Regions from separate parts of the Homo sapiens genome. Here region 2 is linked to region 1. The links are contacts of gene promoters, found by promoter capture Hi-C in blood cells and fetal thymus (Javierre and others, 2016). All regions are on one chromosome and are shown on one strand. Each heading gives the region's core, a stretch centred on a gene start or on the middle of the fragment in contact. The rest is flanking DNA. Distances are from core to core; before and after follow the strand shown.

Region 1 (6,104 bases), core at 1,485-3,984:
CGTGCCTGTCCGAATATTTTGTATTTTTAGTAGAGACGGGGTTTCACCATGTTGGCCAGGTTGGTCTGGAACTCCTGAGCTCAGACAATCTGCCCGCCTTGGCCTCCCAAAGTGCTAGAATATAGGCATAAACCACCGCGCCCGGACGACAAAATATTAAATTCTAGGCAGGGCGTGGTGGCTCACACCTGTAATCCCAGCACTTTGAGTGGCTGAGGCGGGCAGATCATGAGGTCAGGAGACCGAGGCCATCCTGGCCAACGTGGTGAAACCACATCTCTACTAAAAATACAAAAAATTAGCCGGGTGTGGTGGCACGCACCTGTAATCCCAGCTACTCGGGAGGCTGAGGCAGGAGAACTGCTTGAACCTGGGAGGCGGAGGTTGCAGTGGGCCGAGATCACACCACTGCACTCCATCCTGGGCAACAGAGCGAGACACCATCTCAAAAAATAATAATAAAATAACAAAATTAAATTCTAAAAGAGTATCCCTTTCTGGCTGGGCGCAGTGGCTCGCGCTTGTAATCCCAGCACTTTGGGAGGCTGAGGTGGGCGGATCACCTGAGGTCAGGAGTTCGAGACCAGCCTGGCCAAAATGGTGAAACTCTGTGTTTACTAAAAATACAAAAATTAGCCGGGCATGGTGGCGGGCGCCTGTAATCCCAGCTACTCGGGAGGCTGAGGCAGGAGAATTGCTTGAACCCAGGGGGAGGAGGCTGCAGTGAACCCAGATTGTGCCACTGCATTCCAGTCTGGGTGATAGAGCGAGACTCTGAAAAAAAAAAAATTAAATGAATAAATGAGTATCCCTTTTAGATAAAGTTTAAATATTTTAAAATGTTCTCAATATATTAAAAAATATTCTTGCGAGACAAGCCAACAAATTGAACTTTTTTCTTATGTTCCCATATAGGTATTAAAACAACTTCAGGATTTCAAAAAAACTCATTTATTAGGTGACAAGGAGGTTACAGAGATTAGAGCAGGTATAACCGAAGATAGCTTGTAAGTGTAGCTGTAGCTGGTGGGCCGGTTGAGGTTCTGGACTTCGCGGTGCAAAATAATTTTGAAGTCCAAAGTAAAAGCAAGCAAAAGAGTTTATTGCAAAGCGAAAGTACACCCTCACAGCTGATCAGAGCGGGCTGCTCAAAGGTGAGACAGCATGCACTGACACTGGGGAAACTCCCTTTGTAGGAGTCTCACAGGATCATTCATGAAGCGGGGAGAACGGGTGCTGCTATTAAGCACGTTCTCTGGTTTTCTGTCGCCATGTGCGCTGTGGTTGTATATGCTAGTACATACACTGCATGTCTTATTAGTATCTTAAATCTTCACCCAGGAGTGGTGTTTTTTTTTTTTTTTTTTTTTTACTATTATAATGAGTATAATTCAGCCCAACGACACTGATCATGGGTTTCTGCGCTTGTGAGAGTTTGGGGATTTTCCCTTCTGCTCTCGTACCTCTTTGCTGCAAAATTTTCTAACCAGGAGCCTCGGATGTGGTTTGTACACTATGGGCTGGTTTGTTCTATTTATTTAGCAAGTTTGTTCCCCTTGAAGGGAGGCTATCACCACCTACCTAACCTACCTCCTAGAAACACACTAGGAGTACTGAGAGCAAATTGCATTAATCTCTGAAAACGCACGTATTTATGCCCTAAACCTACTACCTTAGAAAATTCTAGAAAACACAAGGATACTCCAGGATACATTTTACCAGCTAGTCAATCGTCATCTAGCCGCTTGAAAACTCTGTACATTTCCAACAGAATGAGGGTAAAAACGGCAAATAACACGTAAGAAACGTTATCAATGTTGTTTTGACTTTGTGAATTCCCTAGAAGGGTCTCAGCGACCCTGAGGTCACCAGACCACATTTCGAGAGCCATTGTACCAGACTCTGTTCTAGATAAAAGACGGAGCAATCGGAATGAATAAAATACTCTCTCTATGGGGAGCTGTTTACGTAGTGGCAACTGCGACCTGTTCTAAAGTGGAACAGAACCGAGCGCTGTGAGAGGGTGGGACTTGGAGACCTATCCTTGCCCGCCGGGCCAGGGGAGTGGGCTCTAGAAGGATGACCTTTCAACTGCGACCTGCTGAGGAGGAGTCGGCAAGGGTGGCCGCCGACCAGTTCTCTTTCCCGCCCACCTCCCCAAATCCCAGGAGAAGAGGGGCGGACGGGAAGCGACAGTGGCCGCGAGTCCCCGGCACGCGACGGGCTCTCAACCTGGCACGCCGAATCCTCAGGACAGCCCCGCTATCACGCAACTACTCGGGTGTCCCAAGAGTCGCCAGGGCCGGAGCCGCGCGCGGCGCCGGGGACCCGCGTGAAACCGCCTGTGGGAAGCGGGCGGGTGGCGCGCGCTCCGGGGACAGTGAGAGGCGGCGGACGGCGCGGGGACGTCCCGAAAAAGGCGCAGCCAGGAAGACGCAACTCCTGACGCGGTCTCGGGCTACGCGGAGGCGGCTAGTGGGAAAGGGGGACTCTGGGAGACAGTGCCTAACAGGGCCAGGCCCCCGACGGCTTCCTCAGGAGGACTCACGGTTCTGGGGGATTCCGGAACCGCTACCCCGTCGCGAGAAAGGAGGTCTACTTACGCGCGCAATCTCGAGCGAGCGGCCTTTTCCACCCCCGCGGTCTCTTGCGCCCTCTGGTGGCCTCTCGCGAGAACGACGCTGAACTTGTTCAGGTGGGACGCCAATAAAGATTTCTTATTCAAAAAACAGGAAGTGCCTACGGAGGCCGGGCCGGCAGCGGCGGCCGGGCATGAAGCCGGGCGGCTACGGGATCGCGGGCGGCGGCGGCATCGCGGGCGGCGGCGGCGATGAGCGACATAGTGGAGAAGACGCTGACGGCGCTGCCGGGACTCTTTCTGCAGAACCAGCCCGGTGGTGGGCCCGCGGCCGCCAAGGCGTCCTTCTCCTCGAGGCTGGGCAGCCTTGTCCGCGGCATCACAGCCCTCACCTCCAAGCACGTAGGTGCCCGCCGGCCCGGGAGCTCAGGGACATCGGAGTGAGGCCCCCGCGCCAGGAGGCCCTGGCCGGGCGGCGAGACTTCAGGGCCTCTGGGGTTAGCCCTCCGGCGGGGCTCAGGGGCTGCTGTGTCGGTTCGTCCTTTCGTCTGCCTGGAAGCTTCACTTTCCTGCTGGGACTGACAGCAGGGAAGCCGAGTTTCCACAGTTAGTTCTGACACTGACTCTTTGATCGGGGGCACATCTCTGTAACCTCTGAGCCTCCGTGTGTTTTCTCAACGTTGTGGTGGAAAAGTACTGATACATAATTCATAGGTTTTTTGTTTGTTTTGAGGATTGGGTGAGATGTCAAGCGTGTGAAAATACCTAGTGCGATGGAAGTGTCAGACATTATTTACCTTCCACAAAGTTTTTTTTCCCTACTCAGTTTCCTTCTCTCCCCCGGTGCCTTCAACTGAACAACAGTTCAGATGTCGCATACCTGAAGAGATCCTGTGAGCCTCTTGTTGAATATCTTTGGGGAGCTTGAGGTTCTTGGGTTACAACAACGTGTTGGGCAAAGAAAAAGCACAGTTCTCTCAAAATGTAAAATTTGCTAAGTCTCTGCCTCAAGTGGGCTTTGAAAATGAGCAGTTATAAAAATTCTTAAACTTTTAAAATTTTTAAATTTTTATTGACGGAGTCTCTCTCTGTCGCCCAGGCTGGAGTGCAATGGTGCGATCTCGATCTCGGCTCGCTGGAGCCTTAAGGTTTTAAAAATTTTAATTTTTGTTTTTTTTTGAGACGGAGTCTCGCTCTGTCGCGCAGGCTGGAGTGCAGTGGCGCGATCTGGGCTCACTACAAGCTCCGCCTTCCGGGTTCACGCCATTCTCCTGCCTCAGCTTCCCGAGTAGCTGGGACTACAAGTGCCCGCCACTGCCTGGCTAATTTTTTGTACTTTTCGTAGAGACGGGGTTTCACCGTGTTAGCGAGGATGGTCTCGATCTCCTGACCTCGCGATCCGCCCGCCTTGGCGTCCCAAAGTGTTGGGATTACGTGCGTGAGCTACCCTGCCCGGCCTTAAAATTTTTAAATTTTTAATGACGGAGTCTCGCTCTGTCGCCCAGGCTGGAGTGCGATGGTGCGATCTTGGCTCACTGGAGCGTCTGCCTCCCGGGTTCAAGCGATTCTCCTGCCTCAGCCTCCCAAGTAGCTGGGATTATAGGCGTATGCCACTACGCCCGGCTAATTTTTGTATTTTTAGTAGAGACAGGATTTCACCATGTTGGGCAGGCTGGTCTTGAACTGACCTCAAGTGTTCGCTCACTTCGGCCTCCCAAAGTGCTGGGATTACAGGCATGAGCCACCGCGCCGGGCCCCCACAGGCGCTCGATGGTTGCACGGATTGTGTAGTATACCGATTCACAGCTACAAGGAGTTTATATCTTAAAAAGAGCACGTGTTAATGTCATTATTTGTTCAACAGATGTTTATGGAACAAGGTTATGTGTTAGACACAGGAAAATAGAATTAAACACATTCCCTTTTCCCAAGGAATTAGTCATTCGTTTTGGGCTTAAGACAAGTATAAGCATGACTACAATGCAATAGAAGTGCTAAAAGAGAAGGAAAGACAGAAAAGAAAGTGCTCTGAAGGTTTAAAAAAAATATTTTTTTGGCAGCTCTAATAAGTTGATGCTATCCGGAGAGAACCTGCTTCACATTCCAGAATCATTACTTGTGGGCTTGTCTTGTTTTGTTTTGTTTTTGAGATGGAGTCTCACTCTGTCGCCCAGGCTGGAATGCAGTGGTGCAATCTTGGCTCACTGCAACTTCTGCTTCCTGGGTTCAAGTGATTCTTCTGCCTCAGCCTCCCTGGTAGCTGGGATTACAGGCACACGTCACCATACCCGGCTAATTTTTATATTTTTAGTAGAGACAGGGTTTCGCCATGTTGGCCAGGCTGGTCTTGAACTCCTGACCTCAGGTAATCCACCTGCCTTGGCCTTGGCCTCCCAAAGTGCTGGGATTACAGGCGTGAGCCACCACGCCTGGCCATTTGTGGCCTTAATAATGTTGTTTTTCTTAAGGTTTTTGTCCTTTGCTAATTTTTAAGGGATCCTCAATAAAATTTTTTAAAAAGTTATTTTTGGTCTTAAATAGCAGTTTGAAACTGTAGATAGGCATCCACGTGTATCAGTACGTCACTAGTGGCTTTTGAATAGCCATCTGATGAACATGTAATTCAGTGTGTAATTTAAAGGTAGCATGATATTAGCCAAAAAAAAATGGGGCCAATTTTTTAAGTGCTTAGGGAGATAACATACAATGCAGACAGTAGGAGTGACCACATTGGTATGTGTCTGAGATAGGAAGTTATGGAAAGGATTTGGGGAATGAGGAAAAGACAGGGAAGAAGAATGTAGTTTAAGGGAAAAAGACCTATTTCTGTTTCTGCTTTCTTACCCTGTTTCTTAATTCCATGAAGACTTTTTACTTCTAAGGGGAAGATGTGAGATGAGACTCTTTTCTTGGGCCAATACATGGAGAATTTCTACTCTCTCTCCACCTTTAATTTTTTTTTTTTTTTTTTTTTTAGATGGAGTCTTGCTCTGTTACCCAGGCTGGAGTGCAGTGGTACGATCTCGGCTCACTGCAACATTCACTTCCCGGGTTCAAGCGATTCTCCTGCCCCTGCCTCAGCCTCTCGAGTATCTGGGATTACAGGACCCCCAGCTAATGTTTGTATTTTTAGTAGGGACGGGGTTTTGCCATGTTGGCCAGGCTGGTCTCAAACTGCTGACCTCAAGTGATTCACTCGCCTTGGCCTCCCAAAGTGCTGGGATTACAGGCATGAGCTGTTGTGCCCGGCTTCCACCTTTAGTTTTAAAAAAAAACATTTTCTGCTATTCTACCATTAAGGGGAAGTAACTGAGTAAAGAAAAGAGGAAGGATGGGTTAGCCTGGAAATATTTATTCTCTCCAGGGATGGTTCTGAGGTTTGGAGAAATGCCTTTAGATAGATCGTAAGCAGATAGTATTTGTAACTCTCCTTTAAAATAATGTTTCTTTTAAATTAAAAGTATTGTAAATTATATTTTTCCGTTTAGATAAATGCTGTTACAGTTTTAAAAGACAGTTAATCAAG
Region 2 (6,410 bases), core at 37-2,536, 270 kb before region 1:
GCAGTGGCTCAATTTCAGCTCACTGCAACCTCTGCCTTCCAGTTTCAAGCAATTCTCCCGCCTCAGCCTCCCAAGTAGCTAGGAGGCACAGGCCACTACACCCAGTTAATTTTTGTATTTTTAGTAGAGACGGGGTTTCACCATGTTGGCCAGGCTGGTCGTGAACTCCTGATCTCCAGTGATCAGCCCGCCTCAGCCTCCAAAGTGCTGGGATTACAGGTGTGAGCCACTGCGCCCAGCCAGTAATTCTTTTTAACAGTGTTGATAAATATCTATAACCAATTCACATGTCTTTAACCTATTCAAACAAAACACTAGCATTTAACTCCTATTCCCTAGTCTTAGTGAGAATAAAATTAATTCTCATGTCATGTAGTCATTAAAAATTTAATTACAAAGACTAGCTTATATGGAAAATGTGAAATAATTTTACACATAAAAGACTGAAAGCAAAATGTGCCAACACTGTAACAGCATTTATATTTATGAACTTAATTATTTATAGTTATGAATTATTTATATTTATGCATTTCCAAAAATTCAGAAGTAAACCTCAGGAAAATACCTTTTAAACTTAATTTGAAAAGTATAATATAATCATAAATATTTTAAACTGGCACTATTCTTACTATAATTTTGTTTACATATAATTTCAAACATAAGAAATTTTAAAAATAATTCTTACATCTCTCCCAACAAGATCATTTCTGTTTTCAATCACTCCCCATGGAGCTATTCCGATAGTGCAAATCTTTCGAGATGATCTGGAAGCATGTTCTTTGAGGGCATCTCCAACATGTTTTGCCACACCTGTTCATAAAAAAAGTTTATTCATTTTGTTTTTTTTATTTTCTTAAAGACAGGGTCACCCAGGAAAGAGAGCAGTGGCGCAATGACAGCTCACTGCAGCCTCAAACTCCTGGACTCAAGCGATCCTCCCTTGTGAGCCTCCCCAGTAGGTGGGACTACAGGTGCGTGCTAAGACAGCCGGCTAATTTTTTTTTTTTTTTTTTCAGTAGAGACAGGTGGGTCTTGAACTCTTGGGCTCATGCCTCAGCCTCCCAAAGTTCTGGGATTACAGTCATTACTGTGTTCAGAACAATCCTGTGCTAAATCTGTAACACTATAATATGTGATATATTTCTCCACACCTTCAAGATATAAGGCAACAAGGTCATAACAAACTTAAAACAAGGTCATAGCCAAACCTACAGAAGAATACACAAGGACCAAAAAGGAACAAAAACCACTAAACCCCACAATATCAAATCACTACAAATGCCAGAAAACACATATAACACTAAATTTTACCATGTTATTTGGTCTAGTCCGTTTTTGCATTTCTCCTCTAAGTAACTGTAGTTTTTTATTATTGCTCTACACATCATTTAGAAAAAATTAATCGGTGGCACAGGACCATACGCAAAACACACACACACACAATAAACAATGACAAAAGTCTATTTCAGTCAAAAATGAGAGAGAAAAGTATAAAAGGCAGTTCCAAAGAGCATATAACTCCTCATTATCACTTCTTTTTTTTGAGGGAGGGAGTCAGGGTCTCACTCTATTGCCCAGGCTGGAGTGCAGTGGTGTGATCATGGCTTAGCTCACTGCAGCCTTGACCTCCCGGGCTCAAGTGATCCTCCCACCTCAGCCTCCCAAGTAGCTAGGAGGGTAGGCACATACCACCATGCCGGGGTAATTTTTTTTTCTTTTTTTTTTTTTTTTTAGAAAGTGTCTTACCATGTTGCCCAGGCTAGTTTTGAACTCCTGGGCTCAAGTGATCCTCCCACCTCAGCCTCCCAAAGTGCTGGGATTATAGGCATGAACCACCATGCCTGGCCCATTATTACTTCTTATGGGCTGAATTGTGTCCCCTAACTCCCAATACCATAAAATATGACTGCAGTTGGAGACAGGGCCTTTATATATGTGATAATACCTTAAAACATTACTGTACTTGGAGGCAGGGCCTTTAAATATGTGACGATTAATTTAAAATAAGGCCTCTGGAGTGGCCCTGAATCTAACTGGTGCTCTTATAAAGAAATCTGAATACAAAAGGAAACACCAAGGATACCTATACACAGGAGGCCATGAGAGGGAGGACACAGTGTGAAGATGACCATGTGCAAGCCAAAGAGAGAGGCCCCAAGATAAACCAAATCTGCTGACACTTACTCTTAGACTTTTAATCTCGGAAACCATGAGAAAATAAATTTCTGTTTTTAAGCCACCCAGTCTGTGATATTTGGTTACAGCAGCCCCGGCAAACTAATGCATCACTCAGTTTGATCTCCATAATGCATCACATCTCATCCCTCACCCAAATTATGAAAATAGCATCTTCGTAGGTCTTTCAACTGCTGCCTTGCCATTATACTCCATTTTGAAAACATCATCCGAGTGATCTTTGCAGCTGTTGACTCTCTACTTAAAACCTCCTCTTCTCATTCAGAGCAGAAGCCAAAATGCTTATAACGGTCCCCAAGGCCTCATGCGATGAACTGCCTACTGCCTCTACTAGTCACCATGCTTCTCTACCACCATACACCAGAACTTCTGACTTCATCACCTAGCACTCTCTGCTTATTCCACTCAAGCTATATTAGACTGTTCTTACTATTCTTCCAACACACGAGCCATCTCCTCCCCTTTACATGCTTTGCCTTATGTTTTTCTTGTACCTTGCTTCCTCATTTCCATTTCTCCTCAACTGTCACCTTATCAGCTCTCCTTGACCATGTAACAAAATAGCAGCCCTTCCATCATCCCTCACTATCCCTCTTCTTGACTTCATGTGTCTGCATAACACTTATCAGCATCTAACACGTTATACATTACTGAGTTATCTGTTTCTTATCTTTATCTCCCCCACTAGAAGTTCCATGAAGGTAGATATTTTTACTGTTTATGGAATAAATTCTTAGCAGCCTCAAAAACTTCTGACACAATGAGGTTCAAAAAATAGCTGCTGGCCAGGTGCAGTGGCTCACACCTGTAACCCCAGTACTTTGGGAGGCCTAGGCGGGCGGATCACCTGAGGTCAGAAGTTCAAGACCAGCTTGACCAACATAGTGAAACCCCATCTCTAGTAAAAATACAAAACTTAGCCACGTGTGGTGACGGGCACCTGTAATCCCAGCTACTTGGGAGGCTGACACATGAGAATCACTTGAACCCGGGAGGTGGAGGTTGCAGTGAGCTGAGATGGCACCACTGCACTCCAGCCTGGGTGACAGCAAGACTCTGTCTCAAAAAAAAAAAAAAAAAAGTTGCTGATAATGAATTAGATGTTTGCAAGCTGACTTAAATGTTTTATTTTAGACAATGAAAGTAATCTGCCCTCTTTATATTCAACCTGTATATGTGATAGGGAAGATATAGAATAAAAGACAGTAGTATGTTACAAATTAATTTTTGAAAGCTACTTCTTACTGCTGCTGAGGCAATGGATTGCCATTCTTGTATCAATTTACCACTAGAAGGAAAGTGATGGAAATAATGCTTTGCTCTACAGTAGGGTCAAAAACCTTTTTCTAAAAGGCTAAACAGTATAAGCTTTATAGGGTATACCATCTCTGTCACAACTATTCACCTCTGCTGTTACAGCACAAAAATAGCCATAGACAATATATAAACTGATATGGTTAAGCTTTGCATCCCCACTCAAATCTGATCTTGAATTGTAATCCCTATAATCCCCAGGTTTTACGGGAGAGACCAGGTGGAAGTAACTGAATCATGGGGGCGGTTTCCCCAATGCTGTTCTGGTGATAGTGACTGAGTTCTCCCAAGATCTGATGGCTTTATAAGGGGCTCTTCCCTCTTCGCGTGGCACTTCTCCTTCCTGCCACTTTGTGTAAGAAGGTGCCTTGCTTCCCCTTCACCTTCCACCATGATTATAAATTTCCTGAGGCTCCCTAGTCATGCTGAACTGTGGGTCAATTAAACCTCTTTCCTTTATAAATTACCAAGTCTCGGGCAGTTCTTTATAGCAGTATGAAAACAGACTAATACAGTAAATAAGTGAATGTTCCAGTAAATCTTTATTCAAGGTTTGGGCTGGATTTGGCACACAGGCTATAGTTTGCCAAATCCTGCTCTAAAGTGTTGCGTTTTTTTTTTAAAGACAAAATAATAACCAAACAGGTTCGATTATCATTTTTACCTACAAACTGTAGATTATTTATCAAGAGTTAAGTATATCTATATTCAGTGTTGATCTGTATTTCAAATATCTAATTGCTATTATAAAAAAATTTAAGGGCCGGGCGTGGTGGCTAATGCCTGTAATCCCAGCATTTTGGGAGGATAATTTTGCGGATCACGAGGTCAGCAGTTCGAGACCAGCCTGACCAATATGGTGAAACCTCGTCTCTACTAAAAATACAAAAATTAACCGGGCATGGTGGCGCAGGCCTGTAATCCCAGCTACTCTGGAGGCTGAGGCAGGAGAATTGCTTGAGCCCGGGAGGCAGAGGTTGCAGTGAGCCGAGATTGTGCCATTGCACTCCAGCCTGGCAACAGAGTGAGAGTCCGTCTCAAAAAAAAAAATTAAAACACACTAAATAAAATTGGTATAATCATCACATTACCTGTGTTTACTCCTCCAGTTAAAATCCAGGCTCCAGTTGTAACTGCAGCTTTAATAAGACCTTTTCCAAGCAACTGCTTGATTCGTGGGTGAAGCTCAAATTTCTGCATGCCCCCATGTACAGAGATAACAAGTTTGGGTAACTCCATTTGCCATTCTTTAAGCAGAAGTTGCAGAATGACTTCAGGTTTGGTGTCATATGATAGCCTCACATACTAGAAAAAGATTTTAAAAGGAGAAAATAATTGAACATGTTCACAGGTTTCATAATGTGACATTATATGACTTTGGAAAATTTTATATGAATCAGATTATGTAAAAAGAGATTTCATAGGCTATTTTCAATATATTTATACTCCAAGGAATAAGCAATAGTAAATGATTTTAAAGTTGAAAAAATCATTCTGTGAGATCTACAGAAATAGCGAAACTAACTTTTAAACATTTAGACACAAATGTTACTCTTTCTGTTTAAACTCAATTACCATTGACCCAATTTACCCAAGTACCTGCAGTATTTATTGCCTTCTTTAACTATGACTACACAGTGAGTTAGAAACATTAAGACTGGCTGAAGAGGATCGGAAAAGGAAAAAAAAGGAATTAGGGGGGAAAAATATGGAGGCTTCTAAGGCTCTTGCTATGAAGAGAGGCAAATACTGAATTATTTGTATGAAAGTTTGGCAATGATCTAGTCCATTTATAAATGAATTGTGACTATGGAGTAAAATTTAAAAAGATATATTTAATATAGATGATTATTTTCTTCACTGTAAATAACTGGATTTGATCAGACTGAGAAATAATCAGAAAATCGTAATCAACATTTCATGGTGTTCGGATGGATTCTCCAGTTTAATTTTTGAAAACATCTTTCTATAGAAAAATAGAAAAAAAAGCTATCGTGTGTGAAATAACTTCTTCTGGTTTGAAAGATTTTAAAAATTAACTTCCTGTTTAAGTGATATCATAAGACTTACTTGCTATACTCACATTAATTCATTCTCTTGGCCTAAAGCACATATATGAAGTAGCTCATAAGAAACTTCAAGTATTCAGACATTGAGACATTTAAAAATCATCTCTAAGAAACCTTATTTGCAAAATGATGTATTTCCCATTCCTTTACAAAGATCAAACACTACTGAAAATCTCAGTACTGACAAACAAATGAAGCCAAAAGGCCAGGCACAGTGGCTCACGCCTGTAATCCCAGCACTGTGGGAGGCCAAGGCAAGTGGATCACCTGAGGTCAAGCGTTCGAGGCCAGCCTGACCAACATGGTGAAACCCCGTCTCTACTAAATACAAAAAAATTAGCTAGGCGTGAGTGCTTGTAATCCCAGCTACTTGGGAGGCTGAGGCAAGAGAATTGCTTGAACCCAGGAGGCAGAGGTTCCAGGGAGCTGAGACTGTGCCATTGCACTCCAGGCTGGGCAACAAGAGCGAAACTGCGTCTCAAAAAAAAAAAAAAAAAAAAAAAAAGAAATGAAGCCCAAAAAACCCCAGAATTCCATAAAACTGAGTAGAAGACTGGAGTCCCTTAAGAATACTTTGGTTTTTGGTTTTGTTTTGTTTTTTTTAGACACGGTCAGGCTCTGTTGCCCAGGCTGGAGTGCAGTGGCGCCACCACGGCTCACTGCAGCCTCTGCCTCCCAGGCTCAAGCCATCCTCCCACCTCAGCCTCCCAAGCAGCTGGGACTACAGACACAGGGCACCCTGCGTAGCTAATTTTTTAAATATTTTTTGTAGACACAAGGTTTCACCATGTTGCCCAGGCTGGTCTTGAACTCTTGGGCTCAAGTGATCTG

The links. Contacts are between HindIII fragments. The CHiCAGO score rates a contact against its expected background, and 5 or more counts as called.
Region 2: a contact is called between a fragment that was not itself captured here and the fragment with the promoter of AP4E1 in region 1, in 9 of 17 cell types (activated CD4 T cells, naive CD8 T cells, erythroblasts and 6 more). The highest score is 9.4, in activated CD4 T cells.

What each region holds. Positions count from the first base shown.
Region 1 is chr15:50,905,949-50,912,052 of GRCh38, forward strand. It overlaps AP4E1 (adaptor related protein complex 4 subunit epsilon 1), which reads left to right and starts at 2,735. Exons shown (of 21, transcript NM_007347.5): 1 at 2,735-2,980. The coding sequence starts at 2,831. RefSeq lists enhancers at 2,328-3,069, 2,544-2,833, 2,854-3,023, 3,070-3,811. The HindIII fragment of the contact is 3,809 bases long and covers 1-3,135 here.
Region 2 is chr15:50,638,739-50,645,148 of GRCh38, forward strand. It overlaps TRPM7 (transient receptor potential cation channel subfamily M member 7), which reads right to left. Exons shown (of 39, transcript NM_017672.6): 5 at 4,602-4,815; 6 at 686-810. Among named protein-coding and RNA genes, the nearest start is that of TRPM7, 45 kb to the right of the region's middle. The HindIII fragment of the contact is 4,551 bases long and covers 1-3,562 here.